Regions from separate parts of the Homo sapiens genome. Here region 1 is linked to region 2. Evidence: promoter capture Hi-C in 16 types of primary human blood cells and fetal thymus (Javierre and others, 2016). All regions are on one chromosome and are shown on one strand. The core of a region is centred on a gene start or on the middle of the fragment in contact, and the rest is flanking DNA. Distances in the headings are between cores, read along the strand shown. Region 1 overlaps SKAP1 (src kinase associated phosphoprotein 1). Region 2 holds the start of SKAP1 (src kinase associated phosphoprotein 1).

Region 1 (5,569 bases), core at 1,556-4,055, 260 kb before region 2:
TGCCTTTTAAATGCCTTCACTGGGGCTGCCTGCCCTTCCCCCAGACCTCTATCTTTTATTGTTACAAAACTAAATGATGACATTTGGATTTATGTATTTTTCACCATTTCTATAGCGCCTTTGGAGAAAAGGCAGTATATAAAATCAATCGATAAATAAGTAAACACAAATAATAAAAATTCCTGCCTCAGATTCTGCAGAGAGAGCAAAAAGTCCTCCTGTTTTTTAATCACTAAGTCACCAATCATTATAACTGGTGGGAAGTGTAAACCATAGAAACATATTCAGAGCTTGCTATACTTTAACAACACTTATTTTGGAGGCAGGAAGCATGAGGAACAAAAGGTTTTTTTTTTTTTAAACCTACTTGAATTATAGCTGTAGGAACAGTTAAGAAATAAATCTCCTCTCACCTCCCAGATATAACCTTAGAGAAAGAGGTGGAAGGAGGAAATGAGATGAGGGAGGAGTCTGAAACTGGATTCTAGACTTTGCTAAAAGATCAATGCTTTCTGAATGGAGTTTAATATGAAATTGGCCATAGGAAGCTTACAGTTACTCCACCCAAGCTGTCCACATGAAGTGTTTCTTTTCTGCACTGGTGATGGAAGTTGGTTGAGAAAAGATATATGTGGAACATGGGCGGGTCAGAACAGATTTTCATTTGGAATTCTGTACAGTAAGTAGACAACAGAAGGAAATAGGTTTCAGAATGGACCTAATCACATGTGTTCACTATCATGAGGTACTTGCAGCTACACTCACATCCGTGCATCACACCCGCCTCCACTGCTTTCTTTCTCTCCTGCTTTGGCGCATGACTTCTGAGGCTGCATCTTCGTTGTCTCTTCTCTTCCCTGGGAGAAGCTGGACCCTTAGGAAGTTGGGTCCTGAACCTTTTAAGTATTCACTTTCTGTAGAGAATGAACCTAGAAATGGGGGTTTTGCTGGATGGATAAGGAGAGAAGAAAAAGCACAAGGAAAGGAGAGAGGAGAATAGGAAAAGACAGGGCTAGATAATGGAGAAGGAGCAGGGAGGGAAAGAGGGCAAGAATTCCTAGGCTTAAGATTTTCATAGACTCCCTAAGAAAAATATCAGCCAGTATCTAAATCAGTCATGATTAGGGCTCTGCCGACGGAACGAATGTCCTTGAGGTGGCCCTTGCAATGTGCAGCATTCCTTTACTGACAACCATGGAATAGGTCCTTGGTCCACTTAAGGAGGCTTCAGAGGGGCATCTGACCTTAGAAAGGATGGGCTCACTAACAGCCTGAAGCATGGTTAACAGTCTGGGATGAATAAGATGTAATTTTATATTCAACAAACCTGTTACATATTCATTTCCAAATGTGCCTGGAATCAAACCAGGCTATCAGAAGTCAGCATCACCAAGGAATTTTATCTTTCACCCTGTGTTCACTTTTCAGATCTGACACATTTCCATTCCCCTCTGAACTTGCAATCTCCGGGCCTCTCAGAGAGGAGACATTTCCATTCTTTCCATTCTCAATCCTCTGATCTCTTAGAGATGAGGCAATTCTATTTTCACTGTACTGATATAAGAAATATTGATAGGAAAAAATAAATGTCTGGTTTGGCTTCCCACCCGCTCTAGGATAAATCTTGGCTGTTCTGGGAACATTAATTAAAGTGAATGTATGGCTGCTTTTAAAGTTTAGGTATTTCCCTACCCAGTCACTTTATTTAGGGCTTTGGGGTTCACACACAGGTACCCTCTTAATTATTGAGTTCAGTAATTTTTGTAGTCTCAGAGAAAGGTGCTTTCTCTAATCAGAAGCCCATAATGTCCTACCCAGTGCCTGTGCATTTAGAAGCTCTTATACCTCCTTTTCGTCGAGTGCCACTCTCATCCTCTTCTAGATCATGCTCTTCATCTGGGGGGATAAATGATCAGTATTAGCAATTAGTGGTTCACAGTCTCATGTTCTTTTTTTTTTTTTTCGAGATAGAGTCTTGCTCTGTTGTCTAGGCTGAAGTGCAGTGGAACGATTTTCGGTTCACTGCAAATTCCACGTCTGGGGTTCAAGGGATTCTCCTGCCTCAGCCCCCTGAGGAGCTAGGAGTACAGGTGCCCACCACCACGCCTAATTTTTGTATTTTTAGTAGAGATGGGGTTTCACTATGTTGGCCAGGTTGGTCTTGAACTCCTGGCATCAGGTGATCCACCCTCCTTGGCCTCCCAAGGTATTGGGATTACAGGTGTGAGCTACTGCGTCCAGCCAGTCAGTCTCATGTTCCTTATACGGAAAGGTCCCCTTTCTCTGAGCTCATCATACTCTCTTCTTTAAGGAAAGTTTAATTACTGTTGTTTTTTTTTTTTTTTTTTTTTTTTTAGGCAGAGTTTCACTCTTTGTTGCCCAGGCTGGAGTGCAATGGTGTGATCTTGACTCACTGCAACCTCCACCTTCCGGGTTCAAGCTATTCTTCCCGAGTAGCTCAGCCTCCCGAGTAGCTGGGATTACAGGCTCACAGCACCATGCCCAGCTAATTTTGTATCTTTAGTGAAGATGGGGTTTCTCCATGTTGATCAGGCTGGTCTCAAACTCCTGACCTCAGATGATCCGCCCACCTTGGCCTCCCAAAGTGCTGGGATTACAGGCGTGAGCCACCGTGCCTGGCAATTACTGTGTTCTTAAAAAAAATATTAATTTGTCACCTTCAAACTGGCCCTCTCCTTCCCTTCCCTTTCATTTATTCATAAGCATGTTGAAGTGCTCATTACATGCAAGACATTGCACTAGGAACTGGGGACAAGCAATAAACAAGACTGTCAGAGTTCCTGCCCTTGTGGAGCTTCCAGTCCATTGGATTATTTAGATGTCTATCACCAGAATCCTAATCCTTTTCCTCAAACTCCATTTCTCCTTCCCTCTGGAATTCTCTTCAAAATTATTATCTCTATGCAAGCATTCTCTCTAGTTTTAAGCATTCTAGAGTTAGGATGTTAGAGTGTGTGTGTGTGTGTGTGTGTGTGTGTGAACAACCCTCTGTGATTGGCTGGGTGCGGTGGCTCATGCCTGTAATCCCAACACTTTGGGAGGCCGAGGCGGGCAGATCATGAGGTCAGGAGTTGGAGACCAGCCTGGTCAACATGGTGAAACCCCGTCTGTGCTAAAAATACAAAAATCAGCTGGGCCTGTGGCGGGCGCCTGTAACCCCGGCTACTCAGGAGGCTGAGGCAAGAGAATTGCTTGAATCCAGGAGGCAGAGGTTGCAGTGAGCCGAGATTGTGCCACTGCACTCCAGCCTGGGTGACAGAGCAAGACTCTGTCCTGGGGAAAAAACAAAAAACAAAAAACCCTCTTTGATTAATTAGTCCTTAATCCTTAATGTATCCATCTTTGTTCAGCTGTAATGGAGGCTGGTCATGTACATAATTTTATGTTCCTAGTACTTGGGGCTTGTAGTTATCTTTTTACTGTTTTTATTCAGCATGTCTTGTTCATTAGAGTATAAGCTCCTGAGGGTAGCTGGAATGGTCTTTTAATTAATTGCCGTAGATTCACAATGGGTTCTAACTCAATGCCAGTGTCTAACTCCAGTCAAATGTTTATACGGTCAAAGTCATAACATAATTGGCCTAAGTTTCTTACTCCCATTAACCGGTTTCATCTCGTCACATTACCCGATAAAATAGGAATTGGACCCTTATAATGTAAATATGTGTACCAGAATCATATTTAGCTATTTTATACATGGGGCAAAGTGAAGAAAAATACACTCGTTATTCTTTTCACTACCACCATGCTCTTTTCCCACTCTCTCACTCACACATATATACACACATATGCACAGTAGATAGGGTATAGTAAGCAATGTTTTGAGGGCTGAATACTCAGCTCCTCCTGGCCACATTTACTTTCCTTTCTCCTGAGTCTTAATGACATTTGCTTGTCTTGCTTCTCCATAGTTTTGCCACTAAATGAAACTTTGACATTTCTCTTTCTTTTTTTAAATGTAATGTTTATAGGGCAATATGAGTTCCGGTATGCCAAACTGGGGAAGTAAGCTCCAAGCTCATAGGTAAGAAGGAGCAGCATAAAAATATATTAGAATACTATAAAGCATTAAAGGAGTAATTGATTTCAAGTAAGAAAGAGACTGATATGGCCAGGTGTGGTGGCTCATGCCTGTAATCCCAGCACTCTGGTAGGCTGAGATGGGAGGATCACTTGAGCCCAAGAGTTAGACACCAGCATAGACAACAGAGCAAGACCCTGTCTCTATAAAAAATAAAAATAAAAATTAGCTAGGCACAGTGATGCACACCTGTAGTTCCAGCTACTTGGGAGACTGAAGCAAGAGGATTGCCTGAGCCCAAGAGTTTGAGGCTGCAGTAAGCCATGATTGCGCTACTGCAGTCCAGCCTGGGCCTGGGCAACAGAGCGAGACCTTGTCTCTAAAAAAAAAAAAGGACGGATACTCTGGGAAATAAAATATATATATATATGCCCTACAATATAGTATGGGAAAAGGAGCACTTTGACTCAACAGTTCTTATAGCCATGTATGATCTAGCAGCAGAGAATGTTCTACTTGACACCTGTAGTGCTCCCTCAACCCTACCACGAGGAATAAAACAACCTAAGCTAATGGAGGAGTGAAATCAAATATAGGAAACAGATCATGCTGAAATAAACCACATTAAACATTCTTTGCACATTGTCTTCTCGTTACTCGTCCACTTCCTTCCTTTCTCAGCTATGATGCATTTCTTTTTTGACATGGGACTAATTTTAGGATTGGAAACATTAGAGGAAAAGTTGGTACAACCTCAGTTTTAGAGATACCCAATAATTTGGACAGAGAGCAGCTCTTTTGTTGATATCAAACAACTCCATCACAAAGACCAATAATTTGCTGTGCTTAGGCACTTTTGCAGAGGTTTATTCTACCTCTGCTGTCTGTGCGCAGCTGTCTCTTCCTCCCAATTCTAATCAATGTAAATTGGGTCAGATCTCCACTGTGAATTACAAATTGGATCCGAAGTTGGAGGGTCACAGTGCTGCTACTCCACCTCCTTCCCACCACCATTAGATGGGAAGCTTCACCAAAGATCTTTTCTAAATAAATCAGACTTTATTGTAAAACTCGGCCACTGACGAGACATAACCTCATTAGCATTGATTTTAAAATAAATTATTGAAAGTGGCTTGCCTGCTCTTTGCATTTGTAAAATAGGAGAATGTAAATGTATTTGCAATGATAAAAATGAAAACTAAAACTTAATTCCTTTATTCTTTTGGGCAACAGCACTTAATCTAGTCATAATACAAAGATGGAACAATAGAAATGTGTTCTATGCAGTTCAGTTCCAGACCAGTTACTCTTGATTTCCACTGCACTTTTGGAATCAACTAGAAAGAAAAAAAAAACATTGGCTATAGAGCTTTTATATCATTCACCGCCATTACTAAGCTCTACGATGATGGATGTAAACGGGGAAGCTCCAATCCCCACATCTGTTTTATCTAACACCGTCCTTCCCAGGTGGCTGAAAGTAGGCTCAAATCAAGAAGCCTTCCCATTGATGGGCTTGGCGCTATG
Region 2 (5,249 bases), core at 2,372-4,871:
ACAGAACAAAAACAAAAAGATAACTTCTACATCTGAAGCCCCATTATTTGAAAACAGACCTGAATATTTCCTCCTCTTTCAATAAAGCAGAAAGCACCCTCCATTTTACTTATCTATGAGGTATTTATTTGTTGATAGGGGACTAGTTACTATTTCTATATGAGAGCTTGACAGAGTCTATCTAAAGAAGCTATTTCCTGAGTTACTCTAGAAACCTCACACTGTTTTGATATTTGCCAAAAATCCAAGATAGCGTGTTTTTTTTTTTTAATTTCTCCACCTTCCATACCCCTCAGGGCTAAAAAGAGAAAAACATGATCACAAGCATAGTAAATGGTCCGTTAGCACTCTGACCTCTCTGAGTTTCTATTTGTCTTTTGTTCCTTTTTCTTTTAAATACCCTTACTGTTTATTTTTTCCTGTTTACAGAAGTAATGCATGGTCATTGTCACAATTCAAACAACACAAAGATGTATGAAATAAAAATTAATAACCTCCCCTCCTCCAAACTCTCAGTCTTCTCTCAAGGAAGCCAATGTTAACAGTCTGGTATATATTCTTTTTTACTTATTCCTAGGCTTACACAAATATTTATAACATATGTGGCTTTTCTTGTTTTGTCTTTTGGTTTTCAAGCAAAAATGGGATATTACATGTACTATCATGCATTTTGCCTTTTAGTCTTAAAAATATGCCATGGACACTTTCCAAGCCTATATATAGATCCACAGAATACTCTTTTAGTGGCTGTGAAGTATTCCATGAGACAAATGTCCCATAATTCATTCAACCATCACCCTGAGTCTCCCAACTTATTAACATTTAGCATAGATCTTCGTGCATATACTACTTCATGACCTTTCACTTCAGTGACAGATTTTTAGAAGTGAGGTTTCTAGGTCGAGTGAAACATTTCCAAGTGTCTCAAATTTTATATTTAAACAAAATTAATTTTAGGCCTTGGGAATTTCTGTTCTCTTCATTATGCAAAATTTTGTTATCTACCTTTCACAATGCTTTACATATTTTATTCTTAAAAGCACACACATTATGTCAAAAAATGCCCCTGTCATTTATGCTTGTGTAGTTATAAATAAATAAATGCTTAAGTTATGGCTGTGATGTCCAGTGTTAAATCACTGTGCAAATGCTTATGCCTTGGTTTATGAAAGTAGTAATTCATTGTGGAAACCCCACCCCCACAGCCATGTGGCAGCACTAGAGTTGCAGCCCTCACATCCTGTGACTCCCTCCCACAGAGTGACTATATAGAGATCAGGACCTCCATTTTTTCTAATTGTCAACAGTTAACCTTAAAAAGTGTGTGGTGGGGGAGACAAATAGCAACAAACAACAAATTGATGGCCATTTTGGGTTTCTAATATGGACAGATTATTTGTAACACAATGAATAATCCTCCTGGTCTACACCAGCGACTGTGTTCCAAAAGAAATAAAACTTGTAACCAATATATTGCTATTATTATTACAGGAACCTTTAAAAAACATATCTTCAAACATTTTTCAATAGAATTACTGGATGAATCACACTTTACATTTTTTTCTCTACTTCAGATTCAAGTTCTAATTGCAAACTTAAAAAAAAAAGCCTTAAAGAAATACATTAACCAACGAAGCTCCTTATAATTTGGTTTCAGACTCCTCCATATATTTTAAAGACCTGAGCACCAACAGAGATTGTTAAGATACAGCAAGCTTGATACAGAAGTATGCGACATGCAATTAATCTCCATTCATACCCCGCTCTACTTGTCAGCAAACAAAGGTTCTGCTTTAGAAGGAGATCTGAAGACTTCAATTAAAAACAGTCAGCTAACAAGAAAATAATCTAAGCTAAAGGAAGGTGGCAGGTGCAGAAATGAGTTGTTTACCAAAGTGTCAGTTTTGAACAATGAAGAACTGCACATCAAAAATGCTGAAGGAATGGATTTCATTGCAAGCCTCTGAAAATAAAAAGGAATTTTCTACCAAGCCTAGACACAAAACTGAAGTATAGTTTAATAAGCTTATAAAATAGGTTTCCTCTCATCAAATGACAGATACCAATAAAAAGAATCAGTTTATATATTTCAATGCAAGGGCAGAGTTAAACTTTTTGCCACAGTCCCTTCTTTCCTAGAAACCAAAGACAATTACAGCCTTCCTTCACAAGCCTAATATTAAACCAACAACAGAGGGAAAGGCTGGATTGTTTCTTCTTAGACACCCAGATAATTCTCTTTTACCCTGCAAATAGTTTTCTACCCCCAAAATTTAGATTTATTCTGATCGTAAGTAAAACGGATTTTGGAAACCTCACCTCAAAAGAAATATCTAGCTGACAGCTTTTACATAGAAGCAATCCAGAATGGAAATAGTGCTACAGACAGAGACCAAAAGGACTTGCCAAATATTTGATTAGGAGGCATTTATACCGAGATAACAAGGTAATGGAGATATAAAACCAATTAAATTGAGAGAAACTGAAAAAAAATACTGCTTGCCAAAAATATGACCTGCCCAAAGCAGGCCGTCTGTTAAATATGTGTCAACTATGTCAACTTAGATGCCAAAAGGCTTAATTCTGAATAGTTTCCTCCTGGGAGCCTTATGCGACTGCAGATTCCAGGCCTCTGTCCTCCCTGGAAGGTTAGTTACAGGAAAGCAAGTAAAAGTGACTTCCACCACGAAACCCAGCAGATGAAACTGCCCGTTAGCAACGTCTCTTTGTGACATCTCTTTGGAGTGTTGGCAGTGTGTGTTGAGTGTTGACGGGGATGGCCGGAACTCTTTAAACCACCGCTTAGACACTGTAGTTGGAAGGTGAACACACCACAATGGGAGTTGGAAGGTGAACACACCACAATGGGGGCACTTCTAGAAAAGGAGGAAATCCCATACTGAGAATGAGCCTGCCTTGGGGTGGGTGAGACCCCTAGACGTCTGCAGGGTGATAAAGGGAGGGCTGGGGTTTTCGCACTGACAAAAACTCACGTCAACCACCTGGCCTTGGCCCATGGGGATCCCATGAGCCCCTCGCAGCCCCCTGGAGAGCCTCGGGGACCTCTAAGCAGGAAGGTTTGGGGTCTTCTGTGAGAGGTGAGGAAGTCGTGGCTGGGGAAGGAGGGGGACGGGAAACCCTACAGATGTAGGGCAGTCCTTTGGAGAAAGGGACAGGTCGGAGACCAGGCAAGGTGGCATGGGGGACCAAGAACCTGGCCTGAGGACTTTAGAAGCCGGGGAGGTGAAGTGGAGGCGTGGAGGTGCCTCAAGGCAAAAGAAGATGTGGGACTCCAGGGAGTGAAAGGGGCCCTGAGGTGAGAGGATGGAAAGCTGGCTCTAGGGAGTTGAGGGCTCTAGAAGCCTTAAGGTTCTAGAAGGAGGTGAGTGACGAAGCCGTAAAGAAAGCCTGGCCGTGGGAGGCCTGGTGTCCCCTTTCGGCCTTCGGCTCAGCACTGGAGGGGGCCTGCGCCAGGGCGTTACCTTCCAGGAGCCAACGGATCTCCTCAGGGAGGGCGGCGGCCTGCATTTGGCTGGGCGGGAGAGAGGCGGGACGGGGCGCGGGCCCTGGTCGGGAGGCGGACGGGCTGGAAGGCGACCCGGCTGCACCGCGAGGCACCTGTACCTCAGCCGCGGTCGCCGCCCGCCCAGCCCGGCCGCGGGGCGGGGCCGTGGGTCCCCGGGCGCGTCAGGAAGTGGCGCGGGCGGCAGGCGGGGACCGGAACGGGGCGCGGGGCGTGGGTGCACGTGGCGCTCACGCCGGAGCCCCACGGTAGAAGGATTGGGGGTGCCGGAAGCACCGCACCGTGCGAGGCCAAAGGTGCGCCCCTCCAGCACCCACCAAAACAAAAGACTTCACAAGGCTCAAAGGACCCACGGCTTTGGACACTCCATCCTAAGCACCGAACAGTTGACCTCACGGTGGCAGATTTGAAAGACCACGGGGTGCCTGAAGTAGGGTGCAGGGAGGCAGAATCCAAGGAAGAGATCCCCGTCAAGCATAGCACCCCTCAATTGCCGGTCCAGTTCACATCTCCATCCCCAGAAAAGAGGGCAAAACTTCGCTCTTTGGGAAGCCACAATGTTGAAAGGAAATGATTAATTCCCAATAAGCAATATAAGGACACCAACATTTGGGAGAATCGCGGCAGCGTGGCAGCAAGGGACACAGGAAACCAAACTGTGCTGTTCTCCCTCAGGATGGAAAGGCCCTGAGGAAAGGAAGGGGTAACACAGGGAGAAAGCTGAGGGAGAGGAGAACAGAGCCCTTTCCCTCCAGGAGCTGCGGAAGGGAGGAAAGTGAAGGACAAAATCACACGGTCTCATTCAAGGGACAGTTGGTGTCAGTGTCCTGGTTGTGACATGGTACTGTAATAGTGCCAGATGTTACCCTTGGGGGAAACTGGGTAAAGGTAGACAGAGTTCCTCTATTATTTCTGAAACTCTCTGTGAATCTATAATTCTCAAAATAAAGAGGTTTTTTAAGTACAATAGGTCAACTGCCATGAAAAAAGTATAAAGTGCTATGGTTGATAAAAGAAGGGAGCTGAATACCAGAAAAGGAGGGAAGAGGCCAGGCATTGTGGCTCACACCTGTAATCACAGCACTTTGGGAGGCTGAAGCAGGAGGATCACTTGAGCCCAGGAATCTGAGGTTACAGCCAACTATGATCACCCCAGTGTACCCCAGCCTGGGCAACAGAGCAAGACCCTGTCTCTTAAAAAAGAAAGAAAATAAAAAGAAGTGCCAGTGTGCATGTGAGTGTTTAAAGGTGCATGTGGTGTTTGAGATGGGCTCTGAAAAACACACCAGACTTTGAAGGGGCAGAGGACTTTCCAGGTGGAAGGACCAGAGTAAAGAAAGATGGAAGAGCCCTCACCAGCTTGAGGAATAGTTAGTAGCCCTCTTTTACTGGATGTTGTAGAAAGACTATGGTTGTCAAGATAAACTGCAGCTCTACTGTGAAGGGACTTGAAAGTCAGAATAGGAATGTTGAACTTAATTGAGAGGGCACTGGGGAGCCATTGACAATTTTTGAGATTGGGAATGACCTAACCAGAGCTCCGGGGTGGTATGTGGCCTCACACATCTCCACCTCTGCCTTTTTCCTTCTTTGTAAAAAATGGCATTTCTATTCTCAGACTCAACCTACAGAATATGTAGAAAAGATTAGGAGTGGTGGGAAAAGACACAGGGGGAAGTGGGTAAAATGGTTTTTACAACAGCCATAAGGGGAATAATGATGGACT

The links. Contacts are between HindIII fragments. The CHiCAGO score rates a contact against its expected background, and 5 or more counts as called.
Region 1: a fragment that was not itself captured here is called in contact with the fragment with the promoter of SKAP1 in region 2 in 1 of 17 cell types (endothelial precursors); the score reaches 5.9 in endothelial precursors.

What each region holds. Positions count from the first base shown.
Region 1 is chr17:48,168,764-48,174,332 of GRCh38, forward strand. It overlaps SKAP1 (src kinase associated phosphoprotein 1), which reads right to left. Exons shown (of 13, transcript NM_003726.4): 10 at 1,846-1,896. Among named protein-coding and RNA genes, the nearest start is that of MIR1203, 15 kb to the left of the region's middle. The HindIII fragment of the contact is 4,519 bases long and covers 547-5,065 here.
Region 2 is chr17:48,426,593-48,431,841 of GRCh38, forward strand. SKAP1 (src kinase associated phosphoprotein 1) reads right to left here and starts at 3,622. Exons shown (of 13, transcript NM_003726.4): 1 at 3,483-3,622. The coding sequence starts at 3,528. RefSeq lists a silencer at 3,536-3,795. The HindIII fragment of the contact is 9,425 bases long and covers 2,024-5,249 here.